4 separate regions of the Homo sapiens genome follow, and all the other regions are linked to region 1. The links are contacts of gene promoters, found by promoter capture Hi-C in blood cells and fetal thymus (Javierre and others, 2016). All regions are on one chromosome and are shown on one strand. The core of a region is centred on a gene start or on the middle of the fragment in contact, and the rest is flanking DNA. Distances in the headings are between cores, read along the strand shown.

Region 1 (2,948 bases), core at 200-2,699:
GTGGGTGTTGGATTGCCCCAAGCTCTTGCCCTCAAGTTGTCCGGAGGAGGAGAGTCAATGGGCTCTACCTAAGGGCTTCTCTTCTAGTCCCATCTGGGTTTGGAGTCTGAGAGAGTGAAGAAGACACATCCTGTGTCCCTCCGCAACAGCCACACAGAACAAAAAGGGGCGAGACTCCACTCCTCACTCTGGAGTCTTAGAATTCAGAGCCTCAGGGCCTCCACCCCGATTCTCCCACTCTCTGACCAAACTCCCTTTATCAATCCTAGAAAAATTACTGAAATCTGGAGGAATCTTTAAGATTTAACTGGTATTAAATTTATGCATTTGAGGTTTGGAAATTTTTTTTTTTTGGAAGGAGATGGAGGGTGGTGAAGGAGAGACAGGTAGGAGGGAACCAGGAGAATGCAGGTCTCCACTAGTTTTAAACACTTCAAGAAGAGAATAAAAAATTCCCCTCCTCTTCACCCCGCTGTAAACATCACCTGGCTGTGCTCATTGTGGCTCTCTAGAGAGATATAGGGAGTTATTTAAGTCTGAGTGAGTGAGCCAGCTACAGCTATGGATGGCTAGAGAGAGGATAAATACATCTAGAGAGATGAGAGGTAGGGAACGAATATAAATATGGAGAAAGATGGACGAACAGAGAGATGGATTGAGACAGAGAGAATATAAAGAGAGGCTGAGGGAGAGAAATGGATGTGTGAATGAGGAGAGAACATTTATGCAAAGAGAGAGAGAGGGAAGATGGGGCATTTCTCATCCTTTTCTCCACATTTCTGTAGTCCTGCCTTGCTCCCTGAAATGCCAATTTCCCACCCCTGGCTTCATGAATTCTTCCTCTAGATTCTAGATCCTGCCCCACACCCTTAGGTGTTTTTGCACCACCTTCCCCCACCTCCCCACCACACAGTCATCCATTTGGCCCAAGATAACATACCTCACCCGGCTGTCCTAGCCCACCACCCTAAGACAAATTGGAAGAAAGGAACATGGTTTGGGAGTTCTGGGCAAAGTATGGAAGCTGGATTCCCCACCTCCAGGTCCACAGACTTAGGGGGAAGGTTTCTCTGAGGGGTGGGAAGAGTGAGGGGCAGCTGGCTTGAATTTGTCCAAATCTAATAACCCAGGAGCCTATTGAAGGCCTTGGGGGTTGGGAGGGAAGGAAAGTCTTGAATATTCTCCTAACTTTTTCCCCCTCTCCCTCTGGTCCCTTCTTTCCAAAAGTCTTTGAAGAAAGATGTTTTTGACGCTTCCATGTCGCTCTCAGATGGATGGGCTGCGGGTGATTGAAGTGTCTTTGTCATGCTAATGCTTGGGGGGTGATGGATGGGCGCTGGGGCTGCCAAACTCTGGCCCGCTTAGCCCATTGGCCTGGGAGAGATCACATGTGCCCCCTCACCCCCACTCCCTACCCCCTTCCTAGGGAAGCGCTTGCCCAGGCGAGCGGGTCAGGCCATGGATTCGAGCCCCAGCGCTGTGACATACTGCCGAAAGGTTGTAGGGCAAGAGGGTGTCTCCCCCAAACGGGCCGACCCTCCTGCGGCCTTGACGCATGGACTATAATAGGATGAACTCCTTCTTAGAGTACCCACTCTGTAACCGGGGACCCAGCGCCTACAGCGCCCACAGCGCCCCAACCTCCTTTCCCCCAAGCTCGGCTCAGGCGGTTGACAGCTATGCAAGCGAGGGCCGCTACGGTGGGGGGCTGTCCAGCCCTGCGTTTCAGCAGAACTCCGGCTATCCCGCCCAGCAGCCGCCTTCGACCCTGGGGGTGCCCTTCCCCAGCTCCGCGCCCTCGGGGTATGCTCCTGCCGCCTGCAGCCCCAGCTACGGGCCTTCTCAGTACTACCCTCTGGGTCAATCAGAAGGAGACGGAGGCTATTTTCATCCCTCGAGCTACGGGGCCCAGCTAGGGGGCTTGTCCGATGGCTACGGAGCAGGTGGAGCCGGTCCGGGGCCATATCCTCCGCAGCATCCCCCTTATGGGAACGAGCAGACCGCGAGCTTTGCACCGGCCTATGCTGATCTCCTCTCCGAGGACAAGGAAACACCCTGCCCTTCAGAACCTAACACCCCCACGGCCCGGACCTTCGACTGGATGAAGGTTAAGAGAAACCCACCCAAGACAGGTAGGGCTCAGATGTGGCCACCCCTTCTCCGGGGCCCAAAGCATCTCTGCTTCCCCTGCAGTGACATGTCCTGGGTCTGGGCTGGGTTCTTCTCTTTCAGCGGCTCTGGTAGACACAGGTAAGAGCACAACCTACGTCTCAGGTCAGGTGAGGTCTCCCCACCCAGTATGTAACCGGTCACCCCAGGAGTAAGTTTCCATACACACCCCACTTCCTGATCTGTGCACCCAGCACAGACCCAGGACCTGGTGTGCATGGGGGATGGAAGTATGGGGAAGGCTGCTCCAGACTTGGTGATCACCATGGGGGTACCTGGTGGTCCCTGGGAACTTTGACAACTGTACTTGGGCAGAATGGCAAATGGAGGTCCAGAGCCAGCCCCGGGAGGAGGGAAGCGGAAGGAGAAAGAGGTGAGAGAATTGACCTGGCCTTTCTCCCTGCCCCGCCCCTAGCGAAGGTGTCAGAGCCAGGCCTGGGCTCGCCCAGTGGCCTCCGCACCAACTTCACCACAAGGCAGCTGACAGAACTGGAAAAGGAGTTCCATTTCAACAAGTACCTGAGCCGGGCCCGGAGGGTGGAGATTGCCGCCACCCTGGAGCTCAATGAAACACAGGTCAAGATTTGGTTCCAGAACCGACGAATGAAGCAGAAGAAGCGCGAGCGAGAGGAAGGTCGGGTCCCCCCAGCCCCACCAGGCTGCCCCAAGGAGGCAGCTGGAGATGCCTCAGACCAGTCGACATGCACCTCCCCGGAAGCCTCACCCAGCTCTGTCACCTCCTGAACTGAACCTAGCCACCAATGGGGCTTCCAGGCACT
Region 2 (2,948 bases), core at 308-2,807, 380 kb after region 1:
TAGTGTCCATTTAGGACTTCCTCAGGCACCATACCCTCTGGTTGGCTGAGTGGGGGATGGGTGGGGGGTTATCTGGGAGGTAATTTAGGGGTAGTAAGTGGGGAGAATATAGGCCTGGGGCACAGGCTGCCCAAACAGTGTGATGAAACTGATCAATGCCTGTCAAAGAGCTATTATGCACCTCTGACCTAATCAAAGGGGTGGGTGAGGGGATCCTATGGCAAAGTATCTTTTCTTATTTATGATGGTATGCAAGAGAAGCAGAAGCTGTCCCCACCACCCCATTTCATGTTAACAAGCAGGTCAACACTGTGCTGTGATGACGAAGATGATGATGATGGTGTTTTCTCTCATTAATAACCCCTATGGGAGGCAACGGAGTTAGGAGGATGGGAATGGGATTTGGGGTCAGCTGGAAGGCAACGGTCATATACCGGTCAAATTCAGTAGAGGCCATTCCTTTCCCCCAGACAGGAACCAATCGTCTAGAACAAACCCTGGCAGCCTCATTCCTTCCAGGTAATTTTTATAAATGAGGGGACACCCATTCCAAGAGAGGACAAAAGGGAGAGGGTGTTTATGTGTGTGTGCATATGCATGCATGTAAACCTGCTAACAAGAGGCCCAGTTGCTCATCAACCCATCCTGCAAACCCTGACCATTTATTCTAAAACCCATTTTTTAAAAAGAGAATAAAATTGGCATTTTATTTTATTCTATCTATCTATAAATAGTCTAATCTATTTATTCCTAAACAGTTGTCCTGGACAAGACCTTTCACTTTTCTCTCTCTCTGTGTATGTATGTGTGTGTGTGTGTGTGTGTGTGTCCATGTGCACACAGTTTTCAGTTGGGGAAAATTCCAGACCAGATAATTAACTACGAAGCCCAGACAGAAACGTTTACCTAGAACCATATAAGCCACGGCCGGGTTAGGTTAATGCTCAGAATTGCCCGATGCTTTACAAACTCCAGTGTAAAAAATTCCAGCCATTTATTTTGCAGTGAATTTATAACAAATGCTGTTAACGTCTTCGTCTTTTGACAGAGGTAATAATAAATTCACTGTTAAAGATGGTAGTTTAATTCCTTATACCTCCAATACTGCACAGAATAAACCATATTCATCACTGAGTAATTTTTTACCACATAAATCTTTAAAACTAACCGGTGAAGGCTGCGGAAACTGAAATATTGTGAATTTATTAGATATGCCCATGTAGTATTGGATTCAGAGGTTTCCATTTGAATATATTATGGGGAAAATTTGTGTCTTTAACTGTGACATTCCCTCCATTTCCCACCGCCAGTATTATAACAAGCAGCTCCTCCAGAGTCAACTGCACATTTATTAGACAGAGATTTAGTAATAAACTCCCCACTAATCTGCCAAAGAGGCTGGATGACATTTTGGTGAGATGCCCTATTTAAAAGGAGTCACAAAAGCTTTGTTTCAGTATAATTATTTTCTCAAAAGAAACTCAGCCTCCCCAAACCTCTTCTGCCACCATTTCTTGGTATTGCGTGATTCAGCTCTCCAACCAAACTAGCAAAATATTGAAACAAAGTATAACCTCATTGCTAACATACAGGGCAGTAACTTCTATGGAGATTATAGGATTAGTTATGCAAGACTGAAGGTAATTGATTAGAACACAGAAAAGCTTAAATTTGCAGACATTCCCAGATGTATGGTATTTAAGGCTAATAAAAAGATCATATTGATTCTCAAATTAGAAATAATAGAAATGGTTTCAGAAAACTAGTTATTTAAAAACTTTCATCTTGACATATGAAACGTTAAAGATACAGTTAAATCCTCAGATTTGAACAAAAATCCTTTTACTCTACATATTAATTTTGAGTGAAAATCTGTACCTGATAGATGAGAATATTCTGAACCTTTCTCATGATTTGCTAGTGAAGTGACAATGAAACTAACCAAGTATATCAAATTGTAACACCCTCTCCAGTTTCATTAAGGAAACATTAATATTGCTAAAATGAAAAATATTTTTTTCTTTTAAATGCAGAAATGTTCATCATATTTAGCAAAGAGAGTCTGCAGTTTCTCTGTTCCTGATAATATTCTGTATTTGGGGAGAGTTCCAAATACTAAGAACTTACATGGAGCATTGTGAACTTTACCGTTTTTTAATAAAATTGGTTTCTAACTATTAAACAAAGGAGAAGAATCTCCTGGCAGTGCAAGGCTGTAGCCCATCCGAATAATTGTTAAAAGACAGAACCCAGCTAGAAAGATAGGCATAATACCAGCAATTAATATTCAGCATTTCACATTATAGTCAAGAGGATGTGTTTTTCTTTGTGATGTGGCTCATAAGCTAAGAGTGTTGGGAGCCAGACTCTGAACTGTGTCTTCTTTTTGTGGATGAGGATTAAGGAGGAAAAAAACAGCGACGACAATCCTGCTCCATCTGTAAATGAACAAACATCTTGATTTTATAGCTATTTGCTTTGTAAAACTAAGGAATGAAACAAAAATTACTGGATGCCTAAGTAACACTTTAATTCTGAATTCATTTACGCTATAGCTATGTAGTTGTCACAAACCATAATGCAGTATTTAATTAAAATAACAGAAGTGCATCTAGATATGTCCTGGGGTAGCTGTCACCAAATTATACTCTATGCCATCGGTATTTTATTTATGAAATGGCAGATTCTAAGGTGCAACTAGGCTGATACAAAAGCATGAACATTTTAAACTTGCATTTTTAGAAAGGCTCTTTTTTTTTTTTTTTTTCCTGCTGCGTCTTTAAATGTTTTCCTCCTTCTGTCTTTGGAAGGGGAGGGAGGTTAGTGTGATTGTTTAAAGATCTCTCTAAATCTTGCTTTTCAACTGTTGACCTCCTAAGTCTTCTGGCTGTGAAATCCCCGTCTGTTGTCATGGAAAGGCTTGCGAGGTTCACAGGAGCCACAGCAAG
Region 3 (2,948 bases), core at 269-2,768, 360 kb after region 1:
ATAATAGGTAAATGTGCTTTGTGGAGGATATTTAACATTGACGGTTCTGCTAATCCTCCCTTTTGGGATGGGGCCCACACAAGCCCACACTGTCTCTATAGGGAAAGCCATGTAAGTGAGACCTTCCTTCCAGAGTATAATTTAGATGGGCTTCCTAATAGGGAGAAAAGTGTATGTAATACATACCAAGTCAATAAAAAATGTTTTTTTGTAATCAAAATAACGCATGGGTCATCACATTAAACTCACTCCATCACATTAATCATGGGATAATTAGCATTTGCTATGTGGCTAGCACTCTTCTCCCCTTGAGGGAAAACCAGAGCCCTCAAGGTTTTCAGCCAGGCCACAAAAACGTTAGTCCTGGAAAATATGGTTTCAAGGTTGGTATCTGGTGGAATTTCTGAACATCCGTGTTGAGCATATGTGGGCCCTTGATTTTTTTAGGATCTCATTTGCAGTAGATTAAACTGCAGGGAACTACCACAAAGAAATGCTAAAGCAATATGTAGAAAATGGAGGCTTTTCTGAGCCCTCTCTCACCACCACCACCACCACCACCGAAGTTATTTTACAGGCCAGCATAGGCCCAGCTCCATGATTCAAGATTCCATAAAAGGACAACTTTTGTCAGGTTTCGCTTTGTCTGAGGTCTCAAGGCTGGGATCCAGCAAGACGTCTGAGACCATTGAAGTGCTGTAACTGGGGCCTTGTAGCAGCTGCAATGGCAACGGAATCTGGCTGTGTTCTCTAGAGAGATTTCAGAAGAGCAAATGGAAAGAGAGATGACGAGCCATCTTTGGGAATTTCTGTGCACATTCCAATGCTGCCCACACTGCCCCAGGGTGTTATTATAAACCTAGAAACCAGATTGCTTTAAAATAAAGCATATAACTGAGTTTTTAAAATTTTGAGTCAAATGGAAACAAGCATTCTGTGGAATTATTTTTCCCCCTGTACAGTTGTTCAGACCCACAGGAAGGGGGAACAGTGAAGATAAGAAGTCTAAGGAAATGAAACAAAATAGAGACCAAAAATACAAAGTTTATGAAGAAAGAGCATCAGGGAAGAGTCAACACCAACATCAGGCCTCCTCTGAACTTCTGGCCTTTTCTCTGTCTTACTCCCATGCCCACTGAGCCCCAGCCACACAGTGCTGCTTGGCCAGCACCAAAACTAGAATCATGTTGTTTCTTCTACCTAGACCATCCCCCTGATCTCAGCCTGTGAAATCATACACATTCTGCTCAAATATGTCTCCTCAGTGACACCTTCCCAGATACTCAACTGGAATTAAGCTTTGTTTTAGCCCTCACCAGTGATTTGTATTCAGGTCTTTCTCCCCAGTTAGTAGATGCTTAGGTATTATTTGTGAAGTTAAATTCAGTGCATTCCAAGTGTTGCAGTTAGCACAAATTGAGTTTAATATCTTATACATCAAGCCCATATCACTGAAATAGGATGCGAATATTTTGAGCTAACAGTTGAGATAACCAAATACACAACAGAGAATTAAATGTGTTATTAGCATCTTGCTTGTATTTTGCATGTTGTCTGATGAGGTGCTATACATCCGTGGATTTATAACATATCTGTGCATGCGGGGGAGCAGTTTATTTCTACTTTTCTGCATGTCCCCTTTGCACCTTGAGTCTATCTGTATTTCTGTTGCATCTGTCACCACAGCACCTTGACATCTGGTTGCACATTTACACAGTTGGCATTTTTTGAAGCTTTTATCACTTTCTTTATTTGGGGAAGTAACTGATTTCCCCTCTTTCTGATTTAGTCATTTTTTTCTAATGTTATTCTTTCTGATATCAGTGTAGCCAATGTCAGAGGAGTGTCAGAGCAGCACTTCAGAAAATAGCCAGGTGTCATGAGAAGCTGCTGGCTCCTCTCTGTCCCTCTGAGGTGGATTCAGTGTCCTATTCCTCTCAGCCTCTCATTAGTGTCCCTGACATTGTGCCAAGAATGTTTATTGAAATCGACTCTCCAGATACTGATGCTCATTTGTGATGCCCCATGGTTCTCTTACATGTTCACACAGTTAACAGAATCTTCTTCAACTGTTTTCCCAATTGAGATGAGATATTTGGGGATCAAGTAGAGCATTTAATGTGATAAGTGGACAGTAATCTTTAGAGGTTAATTTGTTTAAAACCTATGTAAGGTTGGGGTCCCATATGCCCTGTTAGGAGCAAGGACCATTATAATCCATTACTGTTTAAAGTTGAGCTAGCACATAAATTTTAATTCACTCTTAAATGAAGATGTATTTCAGTAGACATAATGCTGAAATGCCTAATAATATTCTTATAAAGAAATTCAACAAGCTCTTTAGCCTAAAAAATATTTTTCAAAATAGTCTCTTAAAATTAAAGTGTCACATTAAAGATTAATAAAAATGAGAACTTTAGCTATTTAACCCACCCCTTCTTGTGAGCAACAAGACTTTTTTTCTGTTGCCATATAATAGTTGTCTTTGACTCTGGGGTTGCAAAGACACCTGTTCAGTTTCATGGAAAGATCTGAGATAACTTGTATGCCTATTTGTATTGTGCCCTCTGAACCTAGGGAGGTGTCTAGGGGTGTAATTTTCACAACCAGCTGTGAATGGTGTTTTCCTTCACTATGTGACAGTGCCCCCTACCCAGTCTTCCAAAGACCCCAGAGGCATAGCGCCAAGCCCATCAATGGGAAGGCTTCTTGATTTGAGCCTACTTTCAGCCACCTGGGAAGGACGGTGTTAGATAAAACAGATGTGGGGATTGGAGCTTCCCCGTTTACATCCATCATCGTAGAGCTTAGTAATGGCGGTGAATGATATAAAAGCTCTATAGCCAATGTTTTTTTTTTCTTTCTAGTTGATTCCAAAAGTGCAGTGGAAATCAAGAGTAACTGGTCTGGAACTGAACTGCATAGAACACATTTCTATTGTTCCATCT
Region 4 (2,948 bases), core at 180-2,679, 340 kb after region 1:
TGGGTGGCCATCACTTCTGGGTAACATACTTCTCTGTTGATCTTATCTTTGTGGCCCCATATCCTTCAGCTAAGTGAATCTTTTCTTTATACGGGCTGTTCTGAGAGGTTTAGTTAAGTGTAGTGGTAGGGAGAGATTATGACACTAATGTAATTCTGTTTTGTGCTGATATAATGTAATACACCTTTAGACTTAGCCAAGAGGGCCATTTATTCTCAATAAATCAAAATCATTTTTATTTTTTCATGACGGTGGTGATATCTTTTCTCAGGTAATGAATAAAAAGCTTCTTTTTTTAATTGTATACTTAAATATAAATTGTTTGCCTTAAAATAGCAACTTATACAATTGTTTGCAACTTCTTCCTATTTTTATAACCGTCCTTTAAAGCATATTTTACATACTTTCTATTATGCATTAAGTAGTTCTCTGCAGATCTGTTCGTTTACCAGTAGGTGTGGATCCAGGCATACAAGATTCCTGCCTCATCACCCCATGGCATGGCTAACACTGTTCATCCTCAGGATCACTAGTTCTTGATCAGTAGGACCCTGCGCTGACACTGAAAGAGGAGGTACCTTGCATGCCACTGTGGATTCCCACCTTGGTTATTTGGATTTGTCAGATAGATCATGGAGCTAATGAGATTGAGCTCAGAGCCAACTACATTGAGAACAACTCTGTTATTGAACTCACCACACAGTACCTTGTACACAGAAGACAGTTAGTAGACTAGAGACTGATCTGACCTCATTTCCTAATTTTTTTTCCGTAGACATTCTAAACTGAGCCTATAATCCCATTTTTTCCCACTGCCCATAAGGGGAACCAGGCAAGAGAATTCCTCAATACAGATTCTGTCTAATGAATAAGAAAGCAACATAGACCGGGTGCGGTGGCTCATGCCTGTAATCCCAGCACTTTGGGAGGCCGAGGCGGCTGGATCCCCTGGGGTCAGGAGTTCAAGACCAGCCTGACCAACATGGAGAAACCCCGTCTCTACTAAAAATACAAAAAACTATTCAGGCATGGTGGTGCATGCCTGTAATCCCAGCTACTTGGGAAGCTGGAGCAGGAGAATCGCTTGAACCCGGGAGGTGGAGGTTGCAGTGAGCTGAGATCACACCATTACACTCCAGCCTGGGCGACAAGAGTGAGACTCTGTCTCAAAAAAAAGAAAGAAAGAAAGCAACATAACACATCTTACTGACTATACACAAAAACACACCATATAAAAAGCTGTTTCCAGCTCTATTCCTTTTCAGAATCTTGTTAGTGAATGACCAAGAGAAAAAATTCAGCAGCTCCTTTGGTACCCAATTTTAGCAAACTGAGTTTGACTCTTGGGGAGAGAAGGTGGTGATGGTGCTATCCCTTGTCTCCTAGAATTAGTGACTTAGAGTTACATCTCTGCTGTATTATGTCTTTGTTTCCTTAGTGGTGGCATTCTTGGGTTTCAGTTGGTGGGGAGAGAAAAACCTCATGCTGATAATGTACTGAAAGTAAATGAAATTAAATAAGCGAAGCAGTGCTCATCACTACTTCCTCCCCCCTGGGTAATTCAATTCAAGCTCTCTCTCTGATGGCAACTCACAGGGGCTGTCTCTGTCACCCCGCTGGGGCCTGGAGTCTTAACATCTAAATAAAAGTTTCACTCAGGCATTTTTTATGCTCCTGCCAGCAGGATCAGTGAGCTGGTGTGGGCACATTAATGTAATATTCATACTCACAGACTCTCCCTGCACACGAGGCAATGTCTTCCCATTTTCATAATTATAGATGTTCCATAAAATGGCATTTAAATTTGCATTAAAAAAAGGAGGTTTGAATTCTAATAGAACGTTTAACATGTCTTTTATGATTCAGACTCTTGGCATCTTTGACAAGGAGCTGTGTCTCTAAGTTTAACAAGACCTTTAAAAAGAAAAGAAAAAAAAAACCTGTGGAAAGAAGAGATGGAAACTCCCAGCTTATGGGATCGTGTTTTCCTCATCTCCCTATGTCTTTCATTTAATTTTTAGGCCTCCAGGAGCAATTTTTTTTTTTAAGAGGCAGAGTCTCGCTCTGTCCCCAGGCTGTTGTGAAGTGGTTCAATCACAGCTCACTGCAGCCTTGAACTCCTGGACTCAAGAGATCCTCCTACCTCAGCCTCCAAGTAGCTGGGACTACAGGTTTGTGCCACCACACCTGGCCTCCCCAGGAGCAATTTTTTGACAGCACTTCAGAGAGCCTTCTCTTCTGTAACTGGTCCTCACCCCACTCAATGCCTCACCCTCAGTAGAATCTGCTACTGTTTCCTTGGAGGGTGTTTTCAGAGGGGTAGGAGAAATGAAAGAACCCTAGAAAAATGAACTTTCCTTTGCTGCTGTTCATCTCATGCGTGCACCCTGAGATTGATTAAAAGGATTTATGGCAACCACATAGTTTGCTAACTGTGAAACACACAAATAAAAGTAGTCCATGAACAAGGAGGTTAACAATAAGGACCAATTGGATAAAAAATCAGGCACATAGACACACTTAAAAACAGAAAAAGAGGCTCTTCTGATCTACCTTTTTATAACTAAGCTTGAAACAGCTTTAAAGCAAAATGTAATTTTGATTGCATTTTAAATTGTCGTAGATGTTATTTTAAAACAAAAAGTAGGAAAAGCACTGAGCAAAGTGCCAGCTCATAGCCACCATTGAATAAATGTTATTGTAGGAAATGTTCAAAAAACAATTGTTTGAAAAAAAGTTATTTCAACCATAACTCTCAAGATACTCTATAGGTGGCCCAGTTGATTCATATGTAGTTATGCCTTACTTTGTTTTGTATTTGGTTTGCTTCATAAATTATTTAAGACAATCCAAAAGAGATTTGAGTTCTGGGACTAAAAAGAATAAATGTTAAAATACCGCTAGCCCAATTACCTTCATTTTGCCTAATTAAGAAATGTGGAGTGTGT

What was found. The method cuts DNA at HindIII sites, captures the fragments that hold promoters and counts their contacts. A CHiCAGO score of 5 or more calls a contact.
Region 2: a contact is called between a fragment that was not itself captured here and the fragment with the promoter of HOXB1 in region 1, in 4 of 17 cell types (endothelial precursors, megakaryocytes, erythroblasts and 1 more). The highest score is 7.1, in endothelial precursors.
Region 3: a fragment that was not itself captured here is called in contact with the fragment with the promoter of HOXB1 in region 1 in 3 of 17 cell types (endothelial precursors, M1 macrophages and megakaryocytes); the score reaches 5.6 in endothelial precursors.
Region 4: a contact is called between a fragment that was not itself captured here and the fragment with the promoter of HOXB1 in region 1, in 7 of 17 cell types (M1 macrophages, endothelial precursors, M2 macrophages and 4 more). The highest score is 8.8, in M1 macrophages.

The regions. Positions count from the first base shown.
Region 1 is chr17:48,529,512-48,532,459 of GRCh38, reverse strand. It overlaps HOXB1 (homeobox B1), which reads left to right and starts at 1,449. Exons shown (of 2, transcript NM_002144.4): 1 at 1,449-2,132; 2 at 2,585-2,948. The coding sequence starts at 1,556. The coding sequence ends at 2,913. RefSeq lists an enhancer at 979-1,559. The HindIII fragment of the contact is 6,798 bases long and covers 1-2,948 here.
Region 2 is chr17:48,150,906-48,153,853 of GRCh38, reverse strand. The region is part of intron 11 of SKAP1 (src kinase associated phosphoprotein 1); the gene reads left to right. It overlaps LOC124904018 (a long non-coding RNA gene), which reads right to left. Exons shown (of 2, transcript XR_007065827.1): 2 at 978-2,948. Among named protein-coding and RNA genes, the nearest start is that of MIR1203, 4.1 kb to the left of the region's middle. The HindIII fragment of the contact is 218 bases long and covers 1,449-1,666 here.
Region 3 is chr17:48,174,062-48,177,009 of GRCh38, reverse strand. The region is part of intron 9 of SKAP1 (src kinase associated phosphoprotein 1); the gene reads left to right. Among named protein-coding and RNA genes, the nearest start is that of MIR1203, 19 kb to the right of the region's middle. The HindIII fragment of the contact is 435 bases long and covers 1,301-1,735 here.
Region 4 is chr17:48,191,279-48,194,226 of GRCh38, reverse strand. The region is part of intron 4 of SKAP1 (src kinase associated phosphoprotein 1); the gene reads left to right. Among named protein-coding and RNA genes, the nearest start is that of MIR1203, 36 kb to the right of the region's middle. RefSeq lists an enhancer at 1,441-2,058. The HindIII fragment of the contact is 2,282 bases long and covers 289-2,570 here.